Regions from separate parts of the Homo sapiens genome. Here region 1 is linked to region 2. Evidence: promoter capture Hi-C in human tissues and cell types (Jung and others, 2019). All regions are on one chromosome and are shown on one strand. Each heading gives the region's core, a stretch centred on a gene start or on the middle of the fragment in contact. The rest is flanking DNA. Distances are from core to core; before and after follow the strand shown.

Region 1 (2,766 bases), core at 24-2,523, 110 kb after region 2:
TACCCAGGGGCTATTTCTTACATTTTACAGGTGAGGAAACTGAGGCACAGACAGGCCACATATACACCTCGGCTTCCTCCTCGGGAAGAAACAGGGATGAAGGAGGAAGGAGGGGTTTCCTGAAACCATAGCCCAGCTCACACACCTGGACTTCCCCAACCCCAGAGCTCCCAACGCTGGGTCCAGGCTAGAATCTCCTAGAGATTCAGAGGCAGCACAGGGCAGGGTTCGAATCCTAGCCAACCCAACCCTAAAAATCTACAAATCTGAGGCCAGGTGCAGTGGCTCACATCTATAATCCAGCACCTTGGGGATCTGAGGCAGGAAGGTCACTTGAGGCCCACAGTTAAGACCAGCCTGGGCAACATATCAAAACCCCATATCTAGAAAAATGACAAAAATTAGCCAGGCATGCTGGCGGGTGCCTGTAGTCCCAGCTACTCGGGAGGCTGAGGTGGGAGGATTGCTTGAACTGGGGAGGTCGACATTGTAGCGAGCGGAGATCACACCACTGTACTCTAGCCTGGGTGACAAAGCGAGATCCTGTCTCTCAAAACAAGAAAAAAAGAAAAAGAAAAGACTACAAATCTGTCTGATTGTTGACTTCCAGAACCCTTCCAAATGCCAGCAGGTGGCATCTGGATGTCTGGGGGCACATCGTAGGTTTTCGGGTCCTGGAATTATTTTCAATATAGAGATGGAATCTCACTATGTTGCCCAGGCTGGTCTCAAACTCCTGGGTTCCAGCGATCCGCCCCCCTCGGCCTCTGGAAGTACAGGAGTGAGCCACTGCGCCGACCCCAGCTTCAGGAATCTTTGAACTCCCCGCAGAGAGCAGAGGTGCCGCAAGGTTTAACCTGCCTCCCTCCCTCCTTATCGCCATGGGCTTATCCAATCATTTCTTCACGGAACACACGTGGGCCAACGCTGACCGGGCTCTGTGCCAGGAACCCGCAAGGCGCTGCTTGTTCATCTCCAGCCACGGGGAGCTCATTCCCTAGCAGCGGGCCAGACCCAAGGTGGGGTCGTGAGCCCCGAGAGGGGCGAGGGTGGCAAGAGCGGGATGGCAGAGGTGGCAGCCGGGACCGGAGAGGGGAAGAGGCATGGCCGGGGAGGGAGGAGCCGGCAGAGAACTTCGCCTGGGCCACCAGGAAACTCAGCCGAGCTGGGAAGAGGGGGACTGGCAAGCGGCCAAGGCGGAGGGAGGCAGGAAGGCGTGAGGCCCGGTGGGAGGGAGGAAGCGGGAGAGGGGCGGGAGCTCTGGCTCAGGTAAAAACTCTTTCTTCGGCTCGCGAGCTGAGAGGAGCAGGTAGAGGGGCAGAGGCGGGACTGTCGTCTGGGGGTGAGTGTCGGCAGCCCCCGGAGGATCTGGCGGACCCCAGTGGTGGGGGTTTGGGGGTGGGGAAGTTGTGGCTCTGGAGAAGCCCCTGCCGGTCTCCACCGCGCATACCCTGCAGATGTGGGAACATTCGGGAGCCCCGAGTCTCGAGAACCCGGTTGCCCTCACCCATCCGTAATTGTCTCCGGCGTTCCCAAGGCCAGCTCGGACCTGGGTCGGGGAGGAAGCCTCCCCCACAGCTGGCGACCCGGGACCCCGGCGCCCCTCCCAGATTGGGCGGGATCAGACCCCCGAGGCGGATGCCGCTTAGTCAGACTTGGCTGTTACTGTTACCTGTGTTGTTGAGATTATTGGCCCCTTGGTTGGGAGTATCTGGGCAAGCCAGCGCTGGGGTCCCCGGTTGGGTTTGGGAACTGCAGGTGACCCCCAGTCTCTCCCTGCGGTTCCGGTGCTGCAGGCCCTGCCAGGTGGCTGGGCGGCATTCCAGGGGCCCTGGCTGCGTGGCATGGACACATTGCTGAACCGGCCTCAGTTTCCCCTCCGTGAGGTGGAACAATGAACCAGCTGGGATGAGGATGCCCGAAGCGTTTAGTCAAAGGAAATTTTTGTGATGAGGTGTACTGCTGGCCACTGGGGGCCCTTGCGTGACTGGCGTTAGGTCTCTGAGCCTCAGTTTCCCTGTGTGTTAAGGGGGGGTCTCATGGCATGGGACCTTGGCGAGGATGAGTTGAGTGGATAGGAGCTGTGGCCACTCAGTGGGTGCCCAGGGACAGTCAGCTGTCATCATAATTATATTAATTATGTCTGTAGCCACTGTTCAGATTCACTCCTGTTCCAAGAATCCCGACCATCTTTTCCTCTGGGTCAGATTTAAACTTTTTGTTTGTTTGTTTTATTTGTAGAGGTGGGGGACTCACTTTGTCACCCAGGCTGGAGTACAGTGGCTCCATGCACTGTATTCACTGCAGCCTCAACCTCCTGGGCTCAAGTGATCCTCCCACCTCAGCCTCCCGAGTAGCTGGGACTACAGGTGCACACCACAGGCAGCTAATTTTAAAATTTTTTTGTGTGTGGAGACGGGGTCTCACTATGTTGTCCAGGCTGGTCTCAAACTCCTGGGCCCAAGCAATCCTCCTGCCTTGGCATCTGAAAGTGCTGGGATTTCAGGCATGAGCCACTATGCCCAGCTCTGATTTTTTTAAATGGACACTTCTCAAGAGGAAACTGAGGTCGCCCCTCAACTTGGGCGGGGGACTCCTGCAGTCCAGATCTGGGATTCAGGGCCCATGGGAAGCCACCTGGCCGTCTAGGTCTGGGGCCAGCCCTGGGGGCCATCACTTCCTCCCACTGGCCTGTTCTCAAGGTGACACCAGGCAGGGCTGGTGTCAGGAGGAAGAGGTGTGGCCCCCAGGTCAGGCAGCTGGGCC
Region 2 (2,936 bases), core at 88-2,587:
GGACCCCAGTCCTTAAGAACCAGGGGTTCAGAGCTCTGTAGGCGTGGAACGGCGGTCCACATCCACCCCTGCCGCCCAAGGTCTCCCAGAGTTTGATTTCTCAAACGGGAGTGCCCAGAACGCCTGGGTTCGGTTGGGCTGGCTTCCCCACGACCCCAGAGCCATAAAGGTGTGGGGTGGGGGGTCATGCCCCTCCCACGTCTCCCTCCCTCCTCCAACCCCAACGCAGAGCGTGGGCCTGGGCGTGGGCCTCTGTGCAGATGGCGTTCTGGCCCCAAAATAGCTCCCCCCCCACCTCACGTCTCCCTCCCTCCCTCTCTCCAGTGCAAAGTGGGTGAGGTGAGGATGGGCCAGGAGGGGGACCAGGAGACATTGCTCTTCCAAGAAGTAGGCTCCCTGCCGAGAAGGCCCTGAAACGTGTTTGGGAGAACCGGAGGGGGCAGGGAGCGGGAAGACCTTCTGGACATTCCTCCAACCCCCTCACTCGGGAGGCCAAAGAGTTAACTGGAAAAGCGCCCCCAGACCTCCAGTCACAGCCCTCTCTGGACGCTGGGAGGGGTCTCCTGTCTCCACACTCCCCCCACTCCAGTCCTCTTTACACCTAGGGCTGGGAGAGTCCTAGAACTCGTGGATGCCCTGATGGCCAAGCCCCTCTACCTATATCTTACATCCCCACGGCTTGGAGAACCCTCCCACCGCACTCTCCTTCGAATTTCCAGCCGGGTCCGCGTCCATGAGGACCCGTAACCCAGCCCACAACACCAGACCCCTTCCAAGCACCCCTGCAGGCTTCAATCAAACTACCGAGCCCAGACTCTTCCTCACTGACCCTCTAAAAACCTGGTCTACACAGACGCCCCAGTCTAGATCGTTTCCGGGTAGAACCCCGGATACCCGTCCACGTCCACACGGGCCTCCGCGTTCAGCCGCGTCCACACGACCCCTCCAGCAGCGGCCACCAGGACCCCCGAGAGCCCTGCCGCGTCTACACGGATCACCCCCTCCGGGGCCCAGCTGCGTCGACAAGGGCTACCCCTCTCAAAAGTCCAGCCACCTGGACTCGGGTCACCCCCCAGGAACCCCCTGGGAGCCGCATCCACGCGGACCCCGACCCCAGCCCGCGTCCACACGGGTCCCCCGACCCCCAGCCTCGCCTCCTACCTCCAACGCAAAGCAGAGACATGTCTCCGAGCTCGCAGGTGGGCCGGAGGCGGCCGGGCCGGCTCTGTCGGGTCGGGCTCAGCGGCCGCTGGGCTGGGGCATCTCCCGGCTGCAGCCCGCGCTTGGCTCACGCCGGGGCCCGGCCGCCACCGGCCATCTTGGTTCAGCACCGGGGGCGCGGACAGCGCCTGACGTGGCGCTGATGCGGGGCGGGCAGGCGGAGCCCAGGGACGCCTGATGGGGCGGGGGCGCTGCGGGCTGGGGGGGCGTTAAAGGGCCTGGCTCCGGGAAGGGGCGCCTCGCCCCACACCTCCTCGTTGCAGGGGGACAAGGGGCGACGGCGGCCCCCAAGCAGGTTTCCTCCTGTGCAGACCCTCACCTGCACTGAAATGGTGCACGTGCCCCCGCCACCCATGCATGGACATTCCTGCCCTGGTAACCTGGGCAAACGCCTCCCTGCAATACTCAAGCAAGTACAGGCAAATGCAAGCTCTTGTGTGTACGCCCGGCACCAGCACCGGGCAGATGGTCCTGTTCTCTGAGTATCTCTCTTCCTCTGTCTCTACGTCTCTGTCTCTCTAACTCTACTGCCTGGTCTCTTTCTCTCCCTGGGTCTCTGTTCCTCTGACTCTGTCCACTGCTCTCTCAGTCATGTGTCTCTTAGCCTCTCTCTGTAAAGTCTTTTTGCAGCTCTACTGCATCCTGTCTAGGTCTCTCTCTATGTCTCTAAGCCATCCAGCCCATGGGTCCTTGCCCACACTCTGAACTCCTTTTCATCCATCAATGTCTTGTCTGAATATCCTCTCCTCCAGGAAGGCTTCCCTGACTGCCCCAAGCTGAGCCTTTGTTTCTCCTCTCTGGACTCCCCCAGCCCCTATCCCTTCCTCTGATTGGGCCCTGACCCGAACGAAACTCTGCCACTCCTCCCCACTTTTCTTTTTTTTAGATGGAGTCTCCCTCTGCAGCCCAGGCTGGAATGCAGTGACGCAATCTTGGCTCACTGCAACCTCTGCCTCCTGGGATCAAGAGATTCTCCTGCCTCAGCCTCCCCGAGTAGCTGGGACTACAGGCGCATGCCACCATGCCCAGCTTTTTTTTTTTATTTTATTTTTTTTATTTTTAGTAGAGACGAGGTTTCACCATGTTGGCCAGCCTGGTCTTGAACACTTGACCTCAGGGGATCCGCCCATCTCGGCCTCCCAAAGTGCTGGGATTCAGACCTGAGCCACTGCGCCTGGCCCCCTCCCCACATATCAAACTGGGCAGCTCCATGTGGGCCCCTTGCCCTGCAACCTGCTCGCTGTATCACTGGCACCTAAACTAGCATGAAAGGCTGAGCCCCACAGGGTCTCCTGCCCCCAGCCCACATGAAAGAGCTTCATAAATGCAGAATGTGCATGGAGTTGAGTGAGGCCATTGTTCAAAACCAAACTCTGTCTCTCATCACAAGCATGGCCTTGGGCAGGTCTTGTGACCTCCTCGTGCCTCAGTTTCCGCACCTGTAGAATGAATATGATAACAAGTCCTGCCTCACAAGGTTGCTGGAGGTATTACATGAGTTAACATGTGAAACCAGTTGTAATTTTTTTTTTTTTGGAGGTGTAGTCTCAATCTGTGGCCCAGGCTGGAGTGCAGTGGCACCATCTCAGTTCACTGCAACCTCAACCTCCAAGTGATCTTCCTGCCTCAGCCTCCTGAGTAGCTGGGATTACAGGCGCTCGCCACCACATCCAGCTAATTTTTTTGTATTTTTTGTAGAGATGGGGTTTCACCAT

Evidence for each region. The method cuts DNA at HindIII sites, captures the fragments that hold promoters and counts their contacts. A contact is called where the count stands out against the background at its distance.
Region 1: the fragment with the promoter of B3GNT3 here is called in contact with the fragment with the promoter of UNC13A in region 2 in 4 of the 25 tissues and cell types used here (adrenal gland, lymphoblastoid cells, mesenchymal stem cells and 1 more).

What each region holds. Positions count from the first base shown.
Region 1 is chr19:17,793,865-17,796,630 of GRCh38, forward strand. It overlaps B3GNT3 (UDP-GlcNAc:betaGal beta-1,3-N-acetylglucosaminyltransferase 3), which reads left to right and starts at 1,274. Exons shown (of 3, transcript NM_014256.4): 1 at 1,274-1,342. RefSeq lists enhancers at 472-1,169, 1,170-1,867. The HindIII fragment of the contact is 34,117 bases long and covers 1-2,766 here.
Region 2 is chr19:17,687,017-17,689,952 of GRCh38, forward strand. UNC13A (unc-13 homolog A) reads right to left here and starts at 1,338. Exons shown (of 44, transcript NM_001080421.3): 1 at 1,162-1,338. The coding sequence starts at 1,183. RefSeq lists enhancers at 1-479, 480-1,440 and a silencer at 674-856. The HindIII fragment of the contact is 19,419 bases long and covers 1-2,936 here.